Linked DNA regions of Homo sapiens: region 2 is linked to region 1. The links are contacts of gene promoters, found by promoter capture Hi-C in human tissues and cell types (Jung and others, 2019). All regions are on one chromosome and are shown on one strand. The core of a region is centred on a gene start or on the middle of the fragment in contact, and the rest is flanking DNA. Distances in the headings are between cores, read along the strand shown. Region 1 holds the start of SLC45A4 (solute carrier family 45 member 4). Region 2 overlaps PTK2 (protein tyrosine kinase 2).

Region 1 (3,051 bases), core at 300-2,799:
CCACTATCCTGACTGCTACCCCCATATACACCTTCTACCACTTTATCCACATGGAAACAAATATGGCTTTTTATCCTCTGGCTTCTTTTCCTCAACATCATTTGTGAGAGTCATCCATGTTGTTGTGTGTAGTTGATTATTCACTGTCATTGCTGTCATTCCACTGTGTGAATATATCACAATTTATGTATCCATTTAACGGCTGATGAGCATTTCAGTAGTTTCCAGTTTGGGGCAATTATAAACACTGCTGCTATCAACAGAAACACAATGTTAGGTGTGTATCTAGGAGCAGAATTGCTGGGTAATCAAGGCCTTTCAAAAAGATTTTGAAAGTTGTACCACTTTGCATGTCCACCAACAGTGTCTGGCAGTTCCAGTTGCTCCATTTCCTTGTCAACACTTGATATGGTCAGATTTTCCCATTTCCGATGCTCTTGGAGGCTCTGCTCTGCACTTCACTTCTAAATTCCTTTAGCAACAGGTGAGATGGATCTTACGATTTCTATTTTACAGATGAGGACGCCAAGGTTCTGAGAAATGAAGTAATTCCTCCAAAGCAACTTAAACCCTGGCAAGGGTGCAGGGCTGCGACGTTAACAGGGTTGGCCTCAGCCCATCACATCTGTCTGTTAAAGCCGCCTCCCCAGACCTTGTCTTGATGGGGTTTCCCAGCAGTCCTGCCCTAGGGATTGTGGCCCTTCTACACGTGGGGAGAGACGGATCAGTGTCCCTGGCCAGGGCCAAGCCTGAGAGGGAGGCCCAGCCTCCAGGAAGCTCCGGGTCGGGTCTTCGTCCTGCCCCGCTCTCCAGGTTGGAGAGGGGACCCGCAGAGCGCGGGGCGTTGGGGGAGTTGGGGACGGGGGCGTGGTCCGGGACCAGGTAGGAGGTCTTCGGAGGGTGGCAGGGAGGGGAAAACAGGAGAGTTTTCTCCTGCAGCGGAGGAGGGGCTGCAGCACCTGGATGGGGCCCATGTCGCCGCGCCACGGGCAGGGGCGGAGGGGGCGGGAGGGTGCTTGCCAAGGGGCTGGGCTGCCGGGGGCCGGGGCCTCGTGGCTAGCCGGACCCCTCTGCGACAGAGTGGCGAGAGGAGCGGGGAGAGAAGGTGGGGACAGGCGGGGGCCACCTCCTGCGGCTGCAGAGAGGGATGGGGTGGATTGCGGGCCAGCGCTTTAGGGGAGAGAGGGCGGACGCTCGGTGCGGAGGGGCCGGGGCCGGGGCCGGGGCCGGGGGCGTAGCGGGAGGAGGGCGGGGGCGGGGCTGGATTATGGCTGGGGGCGGGGCCATGGCGAGACGGGGGCGGGAGCCACGGTGCGCGCGGGGGCGGGGCAGGGGCGCGGCGGGGGCGGGGCGGCCGTTCGGGGGCGGGGTGGGCGGCAGCGGAGGCCAATGAGCGCGCGCGGCGCAGACCCCGCCCCCCGAATCCCCGTCCCGCGGCGGCGGGTGCTGCATAGTCATGAGGCGCAGGGGCCGGCGCTGCGTCAGCGGAAGCGGCGCGGAGCGGCTGTTTCCGACCCGATAAAGCGGCGTTGTCTCCGCGCGCCGGCCGCAGCCTCGCAGCGCTCTCTCCGCGCCCGCGTCGCTGACTGACCGCCCGGCCGGCCGGCCGAGGGAGCAGCCCCCGCCCGGACCCGCAGCCGCCTCCCGACCCCGGTGCGCCCGGGGCTCCGCGCCCCCGTAGCCCCTGCCCGGCCCGGCCCGGCCGCCCCGCCGCCCCCGCGGCCCCGGCCGGAGGAGACAGGTGAGTGGCCTGCCGCCCGCAGCCGCCTGCCCCGCCGCCCCCTGCACCTCGCACCTGGGCGCCGGGCACCTGCAGCCTCCCCACCCCCACCTCCCGCACAGCCTCGGCCTCCAGGTCGGGTCCGCGCCGCAGCCCCAGCCCCGCACCTTCTCCGGGGGAGGGGACGTGCCCCCACCCGGCTTGCGCTGGCTCCTCAGGGCCCCCCAATTCCTTCCCGCCTCCTCTTTCCGGATTGCACCTGCCCTGGTCCCCAGCCCTGCAGCCTCCCTCATTCCCCCCACCCCGGCCCCCACCCCGGGGCGCGCGCCTTCATTTGGACCCGGCCCGCTTTCGCACCCATCAGTCCTCCCCGCCCCCAGTTCCTCGGTTTCTCTACCCAGAGAGGAGCCTGGCGCCTCTAACTCCTGGTCCTGACCCTGTCTTGTCCTTCTAACCCCTGCCTGCTATCTCTAACTTATGAGAATTCAACCAGCGATACACCACTCGCGAAGTGGCCCCCTCTCCCCTCTGTCTGGACCGGTCCTCCCAACCGAACACACTCCCTTCTTCCCCTTCTTCCCCTTCCCTTCTTCCCCTCCTTTCCCTCTGCCCAGTGCACACACGACCCTGGCAGCACTGCTAGCCAGTGTCCCCCGCCTCGGACCCCCAGCCTGCACCGCCAGACTGTGGCTCTGCCCCGGTCTCATCGGCACTGCGCTCCCTTGTGTCCCTTTGAAGATACCTTGATTTCCTGAGACCGACCTTGTCCCTGGAGGAAAGAGGCCAGGGCATCAGTTCATCCGGGCCCAGATTCCCTGCTCTGTAGAAGTCCCCGCACCTTCTGCGTCTCAGCACCCGCTGCCCCTTTCCCCTTTGCGCTTAACCCGTTCCTCCCCCAGGTATCCTGCTCTGGATTGGAGCACTTCCAGCAGCGGCTTTTCCAGCGGAGGCGGATCCACACGGGGCCCAGCCTCCTGGTTAGCTATTCAGAATGATTCTAGAAGGCGGGGGCTAGGGAGGGCTGGGAAGGGCCGCTTGACCTCCTAAGGAGCCTGAGGTGTTTGTGTCTCTCCAGTGCGGGTCACTGATGGAGTGTGGCTTCAGGTTCACAGACCTAGCCACTGACCCCCATCTGATACCTCAGCTGACTCCAGCAAAACAGGGCTTGTCGTTTTTATTACTGTTTTGGGGGCTGTCTTTTCCAGTCTATGACCCGGAGCGAGGAGGGTTTACCAGATGAGTGATTGAACTAATTGTTGTGGGGTCAGATGATTCTTGTGGGCTGGTAGATTCTGAATCGAAGCCCATTTCTGCTGGGGAAAAGCCACTGC
Region 2 (2,741 bases), core at 46-2,545, 320 kb after region 1:
AGTAAGTTGAGCTGTGGTTTAGGCTCTGTACAAGAGGGGCGGTAAAGATGAAGGAGTGGGACTGAGGATGGGTGTGGAGGAAAGGTTAGGGCCACTTTTCATCGCCACCTGGGGTAGCTTGCCAGCACATGTTTACCTTTGGTTTGGGATCACAGCAAGCAGAAGAGATGAAAGCTCCCTTTAACCGTTCTAGGATATGTATTTGAATTGGAGAAACTACCTCAAAATAGAGTGTGTGCAGGCACTATATGAAGGCTTCTCAGCGTTTAAGTGCATACATGCCACCCAGGGATCTCGTTATATTTTAAGTTCCAATTCAGTCTGTCTGGGAAGGGCTCAGACTTGCATTTTTCCTAAGTTCCCAGGTGATGCCAGGGCTGGTGGTCTGTGGACCATACTTGGAGTAGCTAGGCATTGGTTTTCAAAGTGTGGGTTGCAAGGTGGCACTGAGTCTTAGTTTGAAAGTTGAATAACCACTGTTGATTGCGGTAGTTAAGGGCATGGAGTTGGGGTCAGAATCCTGGCTCTATGATCTTGGGCTTGTTTGTTAAGTTTTCTAATCTCTATTTCCTTGTGTGGCATGTGATTGTACTACATGATTATGTAATGCTTAGTCTTTTTTTTTTGTTTTTTTTTGAGACAGAGTCTTGCTGTGTCACCCAGGCTGCCAGGCTGGAGTGGAGTGGCATGATCTCGGCTGACTGCAACCTCTGCCTCCCAGGTTCAAGCAATTGCCCTGCCTCAGCCTCCCGAATAGCTGGGATTACAGGCACATGCCACCACACCCGGCTGATATTTGTATTTTTAGTAGAGACGGGGTTTTACCGTCTTGGCCAGGCTGGTCTTGAACTCCTGACTTCAGGTGATCCACCCACCTTGGCCTCCCAAAGTGTTGGGATTACAGGCCTGAGCCACCGTGCCCGGCAGTGCTTGGTCTTATTAAACGCTTTATGAAAGGTAACAGTTATTAAAAGTAAATGTTTACATTAAAAGTTTGCCAGTTTTCAAAGTGCTGAGTCTTCCCTGCATCTTTGCTCAGTTTGTAAAATTGCACCTCCCTCCCTCCCTCCCTTCTTCTCTCCCTCCCTCCTTCCCTCCTTCCTCCTTTCCTTCCTTCCTTCTTCCTTCCTTCCTTCCTTCACTTCCCTCTCTCTAGGACAGTGATGAACCAGCCTTCTTGTACTGGAGGAATACACCATCCGTCTTCATAAAGACTGGCAGGCACATGGACAAGTTTACCAGTTATAATGCTTTTCTTACACATTAAAGAAGTAGGTGTTTGTATTGGGGCTTCAACAAGGACTTGGAAAACTTTAAGATAATACAACTACATAGTATTCCTTTAGGTGAATATCGTTTCAGTTTCTCAGATCATTGATGAAAGCCTTAACAAAGATTTTTTTTTTTTTTTTTTTTTTGAGATGGAGTCTTACTCTGTTGCCCAGGCTGAAGTGCATGATCTTGGCTCACTGCAACCTTCACCTCCTGGGTTCAAGCAATTCTCCTGCCTCAGCCTTCCGAGTAGCTGGGATTACAGGCACCTGTCACCATGTGTGGCTAATTTTTGCATTTTTAGTAGAGACAGGGTTTTGCTCTGTTGGCCAGGCTGGTCTCAAACTCCTGACCTCAGAAGATCCGCCTGCCTTGGCCTCCCAAAGTGCTGGGATTGCAGGTGTGAGCCACCACACCCGGCCTAGATTTTAAAATAAGCATCTGTTTGTTTCTTTTTTTAGTTGCCACTAGTAAGGATGATGGAAAACTATATTTTGTACTAAGGATTTTGAAAGATAGAATTCTTTCAAGTGAGAATTCTGTGACTTTTCTGTTAAATGCGTATTTAATAACTAAAAATACAAAGCTTCAATGTGAAAACCTTGTAGAAGTTTTCAAACATATACAGAAACAATGTTGTAATGAATTCCCTGTTTATTCATTACCACTTTCAGCCATGGTTATTATTTAATAAGTATTGTTAACTCTTTAAAGGTACTGGTTCATACTTAAAAGTTGTGAAGTAACTTGCTTCTGAAAACGTACGCTAACATTGGACAACTCCTGCTAAAATGTGACATAATTCATGATGCATTTCTTTAAAAAAGATAGGGAAGGAATTGAATATAGCTCTGCTGCTTTTCTAAGGTTCTTCTGTGAGTGGGTGATGCAGCTGACTGTCCTGTGTCTTTCTTTCTTTCTTTTTTTTTGGAGATTGAGTCTTGCTCAGTTGCCCAGGCTGGAGTACAGTGGTGCTATCTCGGCTCACTGCAACCTCCGCCTCCCGGGTTCAAGCGATTCTCCTGCCTCAGTCTCCTGAGTAGCTGGGATTACAGGCACCCGCCACCATGTCTGGCTAATTTCTGTATTTTTAGTAGAGATGGGGTTTCACCATGTTGGTCAGGCTGGTCTCGAACTCCTGACCTTGTGATCTGCCCGCCTCAGCCTCCCAAAGTGTTGGGATTACAGGCGGGAGCCTCCGCACCCAGCCCCCGTATCTATCTTAATGATGCAGTGTGTATCTATCTTAATGATCCAATGTGTATCTTAATGATCCAGTGAGCTAAGCAAGGCGGTGGGGACTCTCCACAGACTTGGAGCCTTTAGTTGGAAGGTTCTTTTCTTAAAACTGTACTTGAATCAAAATAAACTGTAGCTTGCTATGCTTTGCTGTATTGGTTTAATGTTCCTGATAGCAGTACATGTCTGTTTTTAACTGAGTCATTTTTTTTTTTTTTTTTTTATTGAGT

The links. Contacts are between HindIII fragments. The study calls those that stand out against the background at their distance.
Region 2: a contact is called between a fragment that was not itself captured here and the fragment with the promoter of SLC45A4 in region 1, in 2 of the 25 tissues and cell types used here (IMR-90 fibroblasts and aorta).

What each region holds. Positions count from the first base shown.
Region 1 is chr8:141,306,786-141,309,836 of GRCh38, reverse strand. SLC45A4 (solute carrier family 45 member 4) reads left to right here and starts at 1,549. Exons shown (of 9, transcript NM_001286646.2): 1 at 1,549-1,741. RefSeq lists silencers at 1,314-1,553, 1,574-1,673. The HindIII fragment of the contact is 10,784 bases long and covers 1-3,051 here.
Region 2 is chr8:140,982,058-140,984,798 of GRCh38, reverse strand. The region is part of intron 1 of PTK2 (protein tyrosine kinase 2); the gene reads left to right. Among named protein-coding and RNA genes, the nearest start is that of PTK2, 18 kb to the left of the region's middle. The HindIII fragment of the contact is 8,425 bases long and covers 1-2,741 here.